5 separate regions of the Homo sapiens genome follow, and regions 1, 2, 3 and 5 are each linked to region 4. The links are contacts of gene promoters, found by promoter capture Hi-C in blood cells and fetal thymus (Javierre and others, 2016). All regions are on one chromosome and are shown on one strand. Each heading gives the region's core, a stretch centred on a gene start or on the middle of the fragment in contact. The rest is flanking DNA. Distances are from core to core; before and after follow the strand shown.

Region 1 (2,788 bases), core at 181-2,680, 280 kb before region 4:
CCGCAGTGCCATCCCGGCGACCTTGGCGAGGGGATGGGAACGGGGTGTCCGCACAGCCATTTCCAGGCGCCCGCGACGGCAGTAAGGGAGTGTCCCAGGCGTTGGTCCCGGCAGCCACACCTCGCTTCGCCTTTGCTCACTCATGGAGAGCCCTCAGCCGCCTCCCACTGCCGCTCCTGAATGCGCCTCACACATCCAGATTTGAAAGCACCCATAGGGCCGCCGCCTCCCACCTCCCGAGGAATCCGCTGCGCTGGGCCCGCAGGGAGGCAGGCTGGACGGCCCGGGCGCCTCCCCATTGGTTGGCCGGGCCGGGCTCGACTCCCTCGCGCGGCTGCCGGCCACAGGCTCACCTCCCTTCCCGCCGCGCCCGGGGAGAGGAAGCGAGGTGGCCTTTACCCCTGCGCAGGCCGGCCAGGAATGCGGGGCCGCGCTTCCCACTCTACCCGCCCGAGGGCTGAGGACGGCGGAGGCGAGAAGCGACGCGCAGAGTCCGGGCGCCGAGTGGTGGAGACGCGTCCCAGGCCGTTCGGATCGGGGCTGCACACGGGCTGGGGCGAGGCCCGGGCCGCTGGTTCCCGCCCCCTCCCGGAGCCATTCGTCCCCCGCAGACAACACGACGGGAGGGACCCACGCGCGGCCGCCGGTGCCCCTAGTCAGCCAAAAGCGAGCCCCACTGGCGGGCACCCCCACGAGGCCTGCGCCCGAGGTGCGCCGATCTCCGGGTGCGCCGAGGCCCCCGAGGGTAGGCGCGCGCGGTGCCCAGGCCCTTCCAGACCCCGCACCCCGGGCGGCCTTCCTTGGGGGCGCCTTTTCCGCACCGCGAGCGGCCCGCGTTGATGCCCGGCCGGGCTGGGGGAGTCGCCAAGTTTGCGAGACGCGCGCAGTGCAACCGCGCGTCAGGCGCGGGGACGGCCGGTGACCTGGGCACCCGCGCGCCCCCGAGGAACCTGCGCGTGGGCAGCGCCCGGTGCGCGGCCCGGGAAGGGAGCGGGTGCCCTCGCCGGGGTCGCCGCTCCCGTGGGGTGTTTCCAGGCTGCTCCGCGCTCGCGGGGCAAGGGCGCAGCGGGGGCCAGGGGGACCCCCGCGCCGCGCCGCCCCAGCCCCCCGCCAGCCCAGGGGAGGGGGCTTCCCACAATGCCCAGCGAGCTCCAGCCCGCACTTCCGCTGTCCGGCTGCCCGCGGGGGGGAGAACGGACCCCCGGCGCGGCCCCCTGCGACCCCGCGGCGCGGCGCCGGGAGCCGAGCGAGGGGCGGGGCCGGCGGCCGGGCCGGCGTGGGCGGGGCCCGGGGCGGTGGCCGCGGCCGGGGCGCGGCGCGGGCCAATCAGCGGCGGCCGGGCGCGCGCCGGGGGGCGGGGTCAGGGTCCGCGGGCGGGGCGCGCGCGCGCGGGCGGCGGGGGCCGCGGGGTTGGAGCGGGCGCGGGGGCGCGCGCCGGCCTGACGGACCGACGGACGGACGGACGGACCGAGCAGCCCCGGCGAGCGCGCAGCTCGGACCCGCCCGGACGCAGCGCCCTCCCGGCGGCGGCGGCGATCACCGGCGCCGGCCCGGCGGCCGCGGCGCCCGCCCTCGCCCGCGCCCCATGGGGTCACAGGTAAGCGGCGCCGGCTCATTGTCCGCGCGGCCGGGCGGGCGCATCGCGGCGGGGGCCGGGCCCGGAGCCGGGAGCCGGGAGCCGGGGCCGCTGCGAGCCCGGGCGCGCCCCCGCCGCCGGCCGCCCCGCCACGCCCCGCCCCGCGGGGGCGCCCTCCCGGGGGCCATCGGCGCTCCCAGCTGCGGCGCGGGCTCCGGGGGCGGCGGCGGAGACCCCGGCCCGGCCCCCGCGGGTGCCCCCCAGGCCGGCGGCGCGGGGCGGGGCGCGCGGGGGCGGCGCGGGTTCCCCGCGGGGCTGAGCGCGGAGGCGGCTGGGCTGCCCCGGCCCCTCGGCCCCCGGCACCTCCCGCCGCCGCCGCGCTCCCTCCCCGGCACCTCCGAGAGGGGAATTTTCCAGCTGGTAATTTCTGCTGCGTCAACGCCTGGCCCCGAGGCAGCCCGGGGGCGTCTTGGCGCCCCCCGCCCGCGCCCCCCGCCGGCACAGCCCAGCCGCACCCGGAGCCGCCCGCGCCGAGTTTGCCAAGAGTCGGAACTGCGGGAGGTGGGCGCGGGCGGGTCCCGGCGCCCTGAGGCCGGGGGGTCATTGTCTCCCCGGACGCCGGGCGCCGGCCTGGTCTCCATCTTAATCGCCGGCCGAACCGGGGCGCAGGGGCCTCGGGGCGGGGCGGCTCGGGGCGCGGAGGGCTCGGGGCGCGCGGGGCGGACGGGGCGCGCGGAGGAAGCGGGGTCCGCTGCGAGCCGCGTCTTTGTTTCTCTGTAAATAGACATGTCAGTTTCGCGGGGGAGCGCGAGCCGGTGTCTGACAACTCAATCCCTAAGGCAAACGGGGAATTCTCTGCGCCAGAGGGAGGGCTCCTGCTAGTTGGGGTTCCCCTGGCCCCGCTGACAGATTCACTGTTTGTAGGTTTAACGAAGCACACACAATAGGGCTGGACCGAGGAGCCAGGGTACAGACCAGATGGGGCGAAGAACGGATATTTTCTGACAGCGAAGAAATATAAACAAAAGAAAGTTTGAGATTCGCAGCGAATTTCCTCTCTCGCTTTCCGTGCTGCAATCTCAACGATGCATTTGGAGTGGATTACGGTGGCAAGATTGTGATCAGCATTGTTTAAAGAAATGCTAATTAGAAACGTGTTTAGCGCGCGGCCTGGGCGCAGACACCTGTGCGCCGAGAACTCACGGGCATTTT
Region 2 (2,773 bases), core at 174-2,673, 400 kb before region 4:
GGTCCCACGTCCCCACGGCCTAGCCCCCAGCCCCTCTACCCACTTCTCCGCTGCCACCACCCCCAGTGGCCTGGTCACCTCATCCCCCTGCGTTCACTGTCCCCTGCCAGGTGCCAGCCCTGAGTGTCCTGAGCCTGCTTGGCCAGTCAGATTGTCCAGCCCAGACCCCATCCCGTTGTGCTGTGCAGGGCCTGGGTTCCCTGAGGAAGCTGGGGTGGGGGTACAGGTGCTCAGGACCCAGCCGAGGGTGCAGCCCGCTCAGCACACCCAGCCTGAGCTTTTGGGAAGACAGGCATGACCTGCTGGCCCAGGATTGTGGGGTTTCACTGCTGAGTCCCACGCCAGGCCAGGCTCCTCTCTTTCTCAGGGGGTCACCCCAGGAGCGACACCCCCACCAGAGGTCCCCTGCTCCCTGAGGCATTCTATGGCTGGGCCTTGGAGCCTGAGTGGCTCTGAACACACTCCCTACCAGGATGTTGAAGGCCTGAGGCCTGCAGAACAGAGCCCAGGGTCCTGGCTCTGATTGCCCCAACGCAGAACTGCAGGTCTGGCCCAGGTGGTCCCCAGGTTACAGGCATTAGAAGCTTGCCACCCCCCATGGCTGGCTGTGTCCCCGCGGGCCTGCAGCATGTCCATTCCTGGGTGGGGGTGGCCTGGCCGCCTGCCCTGGTCACTGACGCGCCACCGTTCCCTTGTGTCTTCCTGTGTTGCTGCCACAGCGTGAACTCAGCGTCAGGTAAGACTTGCACAGCTGTCTGCACAGATGGAGGCACTTCCAACACCTCCAAGGAGCTCTGGGGTCTGGGCTGTGATCCAGCCAGGCAGCTGGCTCTTCCCCAGTCACAGAAGGGGTGGTGTGGAGTGGTCCCAGCCCTGCTTCTGCCTCCCCTTGCTGGCAGATGAGGACACTGAGGCACAGAGACGTGAAGTAGCTTGCCCAGCGTCACGGAGTCCTGACCCTGTCCTGGCCAGACTTTGCTGGAGGCTCCCCTGACTCCTGAGTCTGTCTATGGGATTTGACCCCAGAGAGCACAGCTGTCCTCCTGAGCCAGCACTGCCAGGCCTCTGGGGCAGTGACTACAGACATGTCCCAGCAGCCAGGGAGCCTGCTGTACCTCCTGTGCCCAGCCTCACGGACCAGTCAGCTTTCCCTGGTTGCAGGTGGAGGGCCTCGCGCCTGTCCTCCCACCCACCCGGGTCCTGCTTGCCCCAGCTCTGTCCTCGCAGCCCGCACAGCTCTGCCAGCAGGAACTGGGCAACTGCAGCAAGAAGCTTGGGCTGGGCCGGGGCCGCATCCCACTGTCCCTCCCCAAGGGCAGGCATGCAGGGGGGTCAGCCACAAGGGACCTGCCCTTCTCCCTGCCTTCTGTGGGTTGGGAGGCTCCTGACTGAGCCACCTGGAGGGAGAGCCCTCACATTCAGAGCCCTCCAAAGAGTTTGCCAAATGTTGGAAATGCCTCCAGGGCCCGTCCACCAGCCGTCCAGCTTCCGGTGCCTGCATGAGTCTCCGCTTGGCCCTCTCCTCGGCCTAGGAACCCGCAGGTCTTGTCCCGTCAGGTTCCTCCTGAAGCTTTTGTTCTGAGAGGAAAAACTTTCCAGGGTTTCAAACTTGGAAAAACACCTGAACGCAGCCAGACACATTTTCCGTCGTCTGGTCAGCCAAGGAAGTGTTGGCCTGTGGCTGCACTCACTTCCTTCAGCCCCAGGAAGCCTTGGTCGGGGGCAGGAGGGAGGGTCAGGCAGGGCTGGGGGCCTGACCGCCCACACTCCTCCTCAGGCCTGCGGGGAACGCCCTGCTCCCCAACTAAGCAGCCTTCTCTTTGTTCTCTTCCTTCTCTCTGTAAACCCCCGTTTCCTGCCTTGTTCCCTCCCTGAACATGCTCTTCACCTGGCAAGCAGAGGAAGCTACGTTGGGATATGTGAGCAGTGTGCTCCGTGGTGCTGCTGTGTGACCCGCCTTCCCGTAGCCCCTTGCCCCGCTGCTCCCGCTAGGCCCTCTTTCCTGCTCCTGCCCCGCCCCTTTCCCTGCCGCTGTCACGCCTCTTTTCTGCCCTGCCACACCCCATTTCCGGCCCCGCCCCTTTCCCTGCCGCTGTCACGCCTCTTTTCTGCCCTGCCACACCCCATTCCCGGCCCCGCCCCTTTCCCTGCCGCTGTCACGCCTCTTTTCTGCCCTGCCACACCCCATTCCCGGCCCCGCCCCTTTCCCTGCCGCTGTCACGCCTCTTTTCTGCCCTGCCACACCCCATTCCCGGCCCCGCCCCTTTCCCTGCCGCTGTCACGCCTCTTTTCTGCCCTGCCACACCCCATTCCCGGCCCCGCCCCTTTCCCTGCCGCTGTCACGCCTCTTTTCTGCCCTGCCACACCCCATTCCCGGCCCCGCCCCTTTCCCTGCCGCTGTCACGCCTCTTTTCTGCCCTGCCACACCCAATTCCGTGCCCTGCCTCTTTCCTTCCCCTGCCACACCCAATTCTGTGGCCTGTCGCTTTCCTCTTCCTGCCCCTGCATCACCCCCTTTCCTGCCCCGCCCCATTCCCTGCCCCTGTCATGCCCCTTTCCGGCTTTGCCTCCTCCCTGTCCCACCTCTTTCTTGCCTCCACCCCGCCCTTTTCCTGCCCGCTCCTAGACCTGCTGCTGCCCCGGCCATCCCCAGGCTTGGGCAGCGGGGCGGGACGGGACAGCCAAGAGACACTGAGCCAGCTTTGCCCCCCACCCCCCTCTCTTGAGGGGCCGCGCACCACCTCGGGGAGGAGCCAGGGCGGGGCCTGACCCC
Region 3 (2,832 bases), core at 166-2,665, 460 kb before region 4:
TGGGCAGATGCAGCAGTGGCCTCATAGGGTGGAAATGGCACCCAGGAGATGGTGTGGAAGGAAGGCAGGTGCAGCACAGCTGCCTAAGCTATGGGGCAGATGCCTCCTGCACTGGTGGCTGCTCAACCGCTTTCCTCCCTCAGCCCACACTGACAACCTCTGGGGAGTCCCTTAGGGTCAAGGGACTGAGAAGACAAAAGTCTGCTGTGGTTTACGCATGGTTCTGCACAGCACACTGGCACTGACACCCCTGGCCTTATTATCTGGATGTCCACTTGACCAACTGAAAGACGGCCAGAAGACGAAGCTATATGAATTCACCGATTCAGGCAGAACATGGTCTTACCATGTGCCCATCACTCAGAGCCATGGCCTGGCAGCCCAGTAGGATGCCACAAATGCTGTGAATAGACACCAATCCCGGCTGGATCTCACAGCCAGAACACACGGGTCTAGGAATAAACAGTGATGTCTGAATGGCTCAAGTCCCATCTCCGCTGCCACAAGTCCCGTCTCCACTGCCAAGAGTCCCGTCTCCGCCTCCTTGGACCCTCCTGTCAAGAGAGCTGGTCCAAAGGCCGGGTGTGGTGGCTCACATTTGTAATCCCAGCACTTTGGGAAGCTGAAGCGGGTGGATCATGAGGTCAGGAGTTCGAGACCAGCCTGGCCAACACAGTGAAACCAAACCCCATCTCTATTAAAAATACAAAAATTAGTCGGGTGTGGTGGCAGGTGCCTGTAATCCCATCTACTTGGGAGGCTGAGGCAAGAGAATTCCTTGAACCCAGGAGGCGGAGGTTGCAGTGAGCCGAGATTGCGCCACTGCACTCTAGCCTGGGCAACAGAGCAAGACTCAGTCTCAAAAAAAAAAAAAAAAAAGAGCAAGCTACGAGCTACTCCAAAGGGAGTATGTGCCAACCAGGGTGCAGACCACAGCTCCCTCTGGCCTCCTCATGTACCAGCCCTGGCTGGAGAGGCTAACCCTGACTCCCAAAGCGAGACTGAGTTGCTGCCACCCACTGTGGGAGACTATCTAGAGGCCAGTCCTAAAAACAGTTTAGTATTTCTGCTTTTACCAGTAAAAGTTAATGGGAACTACAGCCACCAAAAAAGCAAAACTACCAACAAGTCAGACCCTTTGGGGATAAAGATATGGGTCCTGGCTGAGCACAGTGGCCCCCATCTGCAGTCCCAGCATTTTGGGAGACTGAGGTGGGAGGATCACTTGAGCCCAGGAGTTTAAAACCAGCCTGGATGACACAGGGAGACCTCGTCTCTTTGAAAAATTAAAAACTCAGCCAGGCATGGTGGTATGTCCCTGGAGTCCCAGCTATTCAGGAAGCTGAGACTGGAGGATAGTTTGAGTCTGGGAGGTTGAGGCTTCAGTGACCCATGATCATGCCACTGCACTCCAGCCTAGGCAACAGAGCAAGATCCTGTCTCAAAATAAAAATTATTTAGGCATGGTAGTATGTACCTATGGTCCCAGCTACTCAAGAGCCAGAAGCAGGAGGATCACTACAGCCCAGGAGGTTGAGGCTGCAGTGAGCTGATTGCAACACTGCTCTCCAGCCTGGGCAATAGGACGAGGCTCTGTCTAAAACAAAAAAAAGATTTGGGTTACTCATCCAGGTCAAGAACCCTGACCAAGCAGGGTGACAGCAGAGGGCACAGCAGTAAAGAAGGAAAGTCCTAACCTCCAACCAGGCGACTAGGCATAGAGAGAAGACACAGAACGACCCAGTTGTTTTTCCTGTGCGCTCTCACCTCGACTGCGTGGGAGATGAGTGCTCTATTTGTCTAAATATGAACTACTTCCCTTAATACTTTGTACATTGGTGGAGATGAACTTCGCGTCTCTAAAGAACAGAATATTCATGCGGGACTCAATTTATGGAGTCATTAACTTACGACTCCCAGGACTCTGTGTCTTCAAGTTTTGGGAGAGAGCTGACATATCTCCATGGCATCTCATCAGCAGCCCACAGGCATGGCACTAAAACCAACAAGGTCACCTTCCCCAGGTGCTTTCGGAAGCCACATGGCACACCATGATACAATGGCCTTCAAGGAGTGTGACTTTATGAGCAGAAGTGGAGGAAGCACACACCCCTGAAGTTGGCCTAGAACAGAAGAGTATTCTGAATGCTAGACACAGCCATGAAGACGTGACCGTGCAGAGGCCAACATGCTCTCCGGGGGTCACGTGACTGCAGGGAAGACCCTCAACCTGAACTGTGCCATTCCTGTGCCCCCAGAGGGACACGCTGGCGACGGCCACTGAAGGATGCCACGCTTCACAGGCCAGAGCATATGGCGTTAGTGTAAAATAACTCCACTTCCACACATCTGCATTAACTAGCGGAGTACACAGCATGTGAGTGCATTATTGTAGGGGAGCTGCCAGTCGGGCCTCCCCAGGGGACTCTGCACGTGGGACACCCCACCCTGGCCAGGAAGCTCACATGCTGCACCCTCCCCAATCCTGAAAGCCCTCTTCCCTTTTACAGAGGAAGACATGGAAGCTCAGAGGCCAAGCACCATGCCTAAGGTTACTCAGCCTCCTCAGGTCTCAAGATCAGCACCCAAAACGCCCATTCTCCCAACAAAGGACTAAGGTGTCAGCTCAGCCCAACAGCGACCCAGAGCTCACAGAGACCATGCACTGCCAGGCTCCCTGGCTGGCAGGTGTCCTAAGTCACCAGTGGAAGTAGCTGTCATCTTAATTTCAAAAACCAGACCCTTCAAGCAACGTGTAAGTGTTTGCTAATAACCAAATGAAGCAGTGCTGGGCTTCACCCCAGGAAAAGAATACAGTTTTTGGAAACACTC
Region 4 (2,733 bases), core at 230-2,729:
AGGAGACGGGCAGCGGGTGGGGGGAGGAGAGGGCGGCGGGGGCGGGAGGAGAGGGCGGCGGGGGGAAGCGCGGGAGGAGAAGGCGCTGGGGCCCCTCGAAGGCCACCCCCAATGTAGTATTTACAATTCTCCACATTTCTCAACACCCCCCACCACCCCCAGCAGGGCACCTCTCTGGTGCAGAGCCTGCCCTGAGCCTGGCGATGTCCAGTCTCCCAGGGCCCCTGCTGGCTCCAGGCTATCAGCCCGGACACAGCTTGGCTGCTGGGGTGCCCTGAGAGCCAGGCCACGGGTGTCACTGCCACCCCACAATGCACACACCAGTCCCCAGACGTGAGGTTTCTGAGAAGCCCATCTGTGACTCCAGGGCAGGCAGGTGCGAGGGGCTTGTCATTGGCTGGACACTGGTCACGCCTATTGGAGGGATGCATTCAGCCACACGCATGAAGTGGGGGCATGGATGCGTGTGAGATGTGGGAAAGGGGCGTGAGGCTCCCTGAAGGCCACCCAGGTGCGGAAGGGGCTGCTGGGGGAGGCCGGCAGGAGGAGTGAGAGACTGCAGATGGCCTCACCCCACCCCCGTGCCTCAGGACCCAGAGGGGAGGTGGGAGGAGTGAGAGACTGCAGATGGCCCCCACCCCACCCCACTCAGGACCCGGAGGGGATGTGGGAGGAGAGAGAGACTGCAGATGGCCACCACCCCATCCTCCTGCCTCAGGACCCTGTACCGTGCTGCTGGGTTTTGCTGGGATTTGCTCCCCCAGTCCTGCCCCGATCTGGGGACCTACCTGAGCGGGCAGAGTTTGCTTCAGCATGCGGGGGCTTGGCGCTGTCCAGGGAGAGGGTGGGAGGTCCCCAGCCAGGGACTCACCCGCCGCCCCTTCTCCGTGTGCTCATCCCCCTGAACTGGGGCCAGGCGTCCGCAGCCTCCACTTCCCCGCAGTGGCCTTTGGGTATGGCCTGGGCATTGACTGACTCAGAAGCCGGTCATCGGGCAGCATGGGGCATCTGGGTGCCTGGCCTGCGGCCGAGCTCCCTGCAATCAGCATCTCGTTTTACTGCATGAAAGCCGGGGTGCTGAGAGCCCCCTCACTCGCCTGTCCTCAGAATTTACTGCAGAGGCCGGAGGCTCGGCACCTGGTGCAGGGTTAATGATGTTAAAATATCTGGCCAACACTTAAATAAGCAGGCAATTTTTCACCTGAGTGCAGCTCAGGCTTGGCAACCACTGCAGGTGCTGAACAGCAGCGCTTCTCCGTGGAACCCCCACTTCTCCGTGGGCACGGGCGGCTGTTGGACTGTGGTGCCCTTGGGCATGGGCCAGGCCTGACTGGGCAGAGCCATTCCGCCTGCCTGGGCCTTGCAGAGGGCGGGAGAGAGGCTGGCCCTGCCCACCCCGCCCTCCTCGGGCCCCTCCTGGAGCCCGCCCCCGCCCCAGCCCAAGCTGCCCTCTGCCGTCGGGTTGGGGAGGGGACGGTGCACTCCAGACGCCAAGGAGGTCGAGGACAGGAGGTGCTGTCGGTGTGCCTGAGGCAGGGGGTCCGCCCTGCGCCCCACCCAGCCCCAACGCCAGCCCGGACGCCGGTGGGAACCGTGTGCCTCCTGGATCCAGGGGACCTCTGAGTGACCGCAGGGCCGGGGTCCCCTGTCACCCCACGGCCAGGGCAGGGAGCGCTGGACACCGGGTCCCACCGGCCCTGCCAGTTCCTCTTCCGGGCTCGCGGGCTCCCATGGCCCTCGGGCCCAGCGTGGTGACCCCGGGGGATGGAGCCGTTCCTCAGGAGGCGGCTGGCCTTCCTGTCCTTCTTCTGGGACAAGATCTGGCCGGCGGGCGGCGAGCCGGACCATGGCACCCCCGGGTCCCTGGACCCCAACACTGACCCAGTGCCCACGCTCCCCGCCGAGCCTTGCAGCCCCTTCCCTCAGCTCTTCCTTGCGCTCTATGACTTCACGGCGCGGTGTGGCGGGGAGCTGAGTGTCCGCCGCGGGGACAGGCTCTGTGCCCTCGAAGAGGGGGGCGGCTACATCTTCGCACGCAGGCTTTCGGGCCAGCCCAGCGCCGGGCTCGTGCCCATCACCCACGTGGCCAAGGCTTCTCCTGAGACGCTCTCAGACCAACCGTGAGTACCTCGGCCTCGGAGTCAGAGCCTGCCTCGCCCCCAGCTGGGGAGTCCAGAACAACGGCAGGATTTTGAGTTGGAAATCGCATGTCCGTGGCTATCTGTTCATTCATTCGTTCATCCACGCATTCATTCAGGGACAGCTGATGGGCCCCGGGCCGGCAGGTGTGGTAGGAAAACAGCAGTGTCCGCTGTGGGCTGCCGAGAGGGAGAGGAGGCTCCGGCAGGCGTGGTCAGGTCCTGTGGGGGGGAGCATCAGCTGCACCAGCTGGACACCCAGCAGGCGGTTCCTCCAGGACCCTGCCTGGCTGGCCAGGCCCTCCCGCCCTCACACAGGGAGTCCAGTGTTCATGGATCGGTCACTGCTTGGAGGGCAGGGGCTGGGGGCTGGGAGGCACCAGATGACAGGAGCTCCAGGAGCTCTGGGTGACGGCAGGTGAGCAGGGGCTGGGGGCTGGGGGCTGAGACAGGGGCCCATGCTCCAGGAACTCTGGGTGAGGGCAGGTGAGCAGGGGCTGGGGGCTGAGACGGGCCCACGCTCCAGGAGCTCTGGGTGAAGGCAGGTGAGCAGGGGCTGGGACTGGGGGCTGAGACAGGGGCCCACGCTCCAGGA
Region 5 (2,700 bases), core at 84-2,583, 350 kb before region 4:
ACGCCTGTAATCCCAGCTACTCAGGAGGCTGAGGCTGGAGAATCACTTGAACCCAGAAGGCAGAGGTTGCGGTGAGCCAAGATCACACCGTTGCACTCCACCAGCCTGGGAAACAAGAGTGAAACTCCGTCTCAAAAAAAAAAAAAAAAAAAAAAAAGATGAGGCCAGGAGCAGTGGCTCACGCCTGTAATCCCAGCACTTTCGGAGGCCGAGCTGGGCGGATCACAAGGTCAGGAGATCGAGACCATCCTGGCTAACACGGTGAAACCCCATCTCTACTAAAAATACGAAAAATTAGCCGGGCGTGGTGGCGGGCGCCTGTAGTCCCAGCTACTCGGGAGGCTGAGGCAGGGGAATGGCGTGAACCCGGGAGGCGGAGCTTGCAGTGAGCCGAGATCGCGTCACTGCACTCCAGCCTGGGCGACAGCACAAGACTCTGTCCCCCACCCAAAAAAAAAAAGCATTATTATTTTAAAGAACACATCAAGAAAGAACTAACAAAATTTATTGCGACTGGCAAAAATGTAAAATCTCAGATTTTAACAGCTAGTCCTATCGCAGCAGCTAAAAGAACACCAAAGTGCTGTGGTAAAAGGCCCCGCAAGCAAAGGGGAAAGACAGACACCATCTGAGGGCTACGAACTTGGCAAGAGATGACAGAAGCTACAGTCTGTACTCCTGGACCCAGAATTTCCTTCGTTATTTGTCTTAGGGAAACCTTCTTACAATAAAACACAATCCTATTTAATAAAGAAAAATCCGATGGGACTGCTCAGCAAAGATCCAAACATTCGCTCTGCTGCTAATCCCTCCCAATAACAGGAGGAGCAAAATAAAAGCCAGGCAGGGCCGCACACTCCACACACTCCCTCTGCTGAGCTGCAGTCACTCCTCCCGTCAGGCACCTGCAGCCTCGTCCGGGGTAGAGGCCTCTGGCCTGGGCTCGCCTCCACTCTGAGACTGATGTGGAGCGCGCGGACGCAGCCTCTGGCACCTGAATTCAGCTCCTGCTTCTTCAAGGGTCAAGAGTAAGACGGGATATTTTCGTTCTGCAGTTTCACTAGAACACATTTCCACCCTACCTGGTGAAAAAATAGAGGCACAGGGCAGGGAGAGCTCTCCCCGAAGTCAGCCGCGCTCTAGAGACAGCAAGGAGGGCAGGGCACAGCCGATGGGGCTGGGAAGTCGATTCCATCTTCCGACCTGCCAGCATCATGATTTCATAACAGGCACAGAATGCCTCAGAACGCAGATTGAGCACAGTGGCTCATGCCTGTAAACCCAGCACCTTGGGAGGCCAAGGTGGGTTGATTACTTGAGTTCAGGAGTTTGAGACCAGCCTGGACAACATGGTGAAACCCCATCTCTACTAAAAATACAAAAATTAGCTGGGCGTGGTGGCACACGCCTGTAATTCCAGTTACTCAAGAGGCTGAGGCAGAAGAATCACTTGAACCCGGGAGGTGGAAGCGGCAGTGAGACACGATCGTGCCACTGCACTCCAGCCTGGATGACAGAGCGAGACTCCGTCTCAAACAAACAAAGAATCCCTGGACACAGCAATGCAGACACTACATGGCTCTGGACACTTCACCTCGTAAATGATTATTTCTGCTGGTGATACATGTTCAATGTAGAATATTTAAAGGGACAATACAATTATAAACCCATGAAAAATAAGATTCATTCACATCCATATTCAAGGAATCTTCACTAAGCACTCACAACACAACACAAAAATTTAAAAATGTCACTCAGGTTTAATATGTCAAGAATAAATGACAAAGTTCTCTGTCATAGAAATAAGTTTTTTGAAACCATTCATGCAAAATGTAGAATGATGTTGCAACAAAGTTAAATTGTGGCATATGCAGGTCTGTCCTGAGGAGGAAATTATTGATCAATACAGAACTTCCTTTTTTTTTTTTTTTTTTTTTTTGAGACAGTGTCTTGCTCTGTCGCCCAGGCTGGAGTGCAGTGGAGCAATCATGGCTTGCTGCAGCCTCAGCCTCCCAGGCTCAGGTGATCCTACCACCTCAGCCTCCGAGTAGCTGGGACTACAGCTGCATGTCACCATACCCGGCTAATTGTTTCTAGTTTTAGTACAGATGGGGTTTTGCTATGTTGCCCAGCCTGGTCTTCACTTCTGGACTCTAGCAATCCGCCTGCCTCGGCCTCTCAAAGTGCTGGGATTACAGGCATGAGCCACTGCACCAGCCCAGAATTTTCAGAGACATGTCCCAAACCTGGTCTAAGTACTTCTTTCTTTAGAAAATGAGATGCTGGTTGGACGATCACTTGAGTCCAGGAGCTCAAGACCAACTTGGGGCTGGGCTCAGTGGCTCACGCCTATAATCCCAGCACTTTGGGAGGCCAAAGTGGGTGGATCACCTGAGGTCAGGAGTTCAAGACCAGCCTGGCCAACATGGCAAAACCCCATCTCTACTAAAAATACAAAAATTAGCCGGGTGTCATGGCAGGCGCCTGTAATCCCAGCAACCCAGGAGGCTGAGGCAGGAGAATCACTTGAACCTAGGAGGCAGAGGTTGCCATGAGCGGAAACCGTACCGTTGTACTCAAGCCTGGGTGACAGAGTGAGACTCCGTCCCCCAACCAAAAAAAAAAAAAAAAAAAAGCCCAGGCGCAGTGGCTCACACCTGCAATCCCAGCACTTTGGGAGGCCAAGATGGGCGGATCACA

What was found. The method cuts DNA at HindIII sites, captures the fragments that hold promoters and counts their contacts. A CHiCAGO score of 5 or more calls a contact.
Region 1: a contact is called between the fragment with the promoter of ZBTB46 here and the fragment with the promoter of SRMS in region 4, in 2 of 17 cell types (total CD8 T cells and neutrophils). The highest score is 5.5, in total CD8 T cells.
Region 2: a fragment that was not itself captured here is called in contact with the fragment with the promoter of SRMS in region 4 in 4 of 17 cell types (total CD8 T cells, non-activated CD4 T cells, fetal thymus and 1 more); the score reaches 7.0 in total CD8 T cells.
Region 3: a contact is called between a fragment that was not itself captured here and the fragment with the promoter of SRMS in region 4, in 8 of 17 cell types (naive CD4 T cells, erythroblasts, activated CD4 T cells and 5 more). The highest score is 8.3, in naive CD4 T cells.
Region 5: a fragment that was not itself captured here is called in contact with the fragment with the promoter of SRMS in region 4 in 6 of 17 cell types (total CD4 T cells, naive CD4 T cells, naive CD8 T cells and 3 more); the score reaches 6.9 in total CD4 T cells.

The regions. Positions count from the first base shown.
Region 1 is chr20:63,829,906-63,832,693 of GRCh38, reverse strand. It overlaps ZBTB46 (zinc finger and BTB domain containing 46), which reads left to right and starts at 1,430. Exons shown (of 5, transcript NM_001369741.1): 1 at 1,430-1,597. RefSeq lists a silencer at 1,273-1,412. The HindIII fragment of the contact is 15,017 bases long and covers 1-2,788 here.
Region 2 is chr20:63,941,616-63,944,388 of GRCh38, reverse strand. It overlaps UCKL1 (uridine-cytidine kinase 1 like 1), which reads left to right. Exons shown (of 15, transcript NM_017859.4): 8 at 720-736. MIR647 (microRNA 647) reads left to right here and starts at 1,663; the gene lies at 1,663-1,758. RefSeq lists enhancers at 646-1,357, 1,358-2,071. The HindIII fragment of the contact is 298 bases long and covers 1,275-1,572 here.
Region 3 is chr20:64,004,364-64,007,195 of GRCh38, reverse strand. The region is part of intron 9 of PRPF6 (pre-mRNA processing factor 6); the gene reads right to left. Among named protein-coding and RNA genes, the nearest start is that of PRPF6, 25 kb to the right of the region's middle. RefSeq lists a silencer at 1,930-2,102. The HindIII fragment of the contact is 5,259 bases long and covers 1-2,832 here.
Region 4 is chr20:63,546,495-63,549,227 of GRCh38, reverse strand. It overlaps SRMS (src-related kinase lacking C-terminal regulatory tyrosine and N-terminal myristylation sites), which reads left to right and starts at 1,479. Exons shown (of 8, transcript NM_080823.4): 1 at 1,479-2,120. The coding sequence starts at 1,765. RefSeq lists an enhancer at 1,765-2,406. The HindIII fragment of the contact is 15,344 bases long and covers 1-2,733 here.
Region 5 is chr20:63,899,816-63,902,515 of GRCh38, reverse strand. All of the region lies in intron 1 of DNAJC5 (DnaJ heat shock protein family (Hsp40) member C5), which reads right to left. Among named protein-coding and RNA genes, the nearest start is that of DNAJC5, 6.0 kb to the right of the region's middle. The HindIII fragment of the contact is 9,931 bases long and covers 1-2,700 here.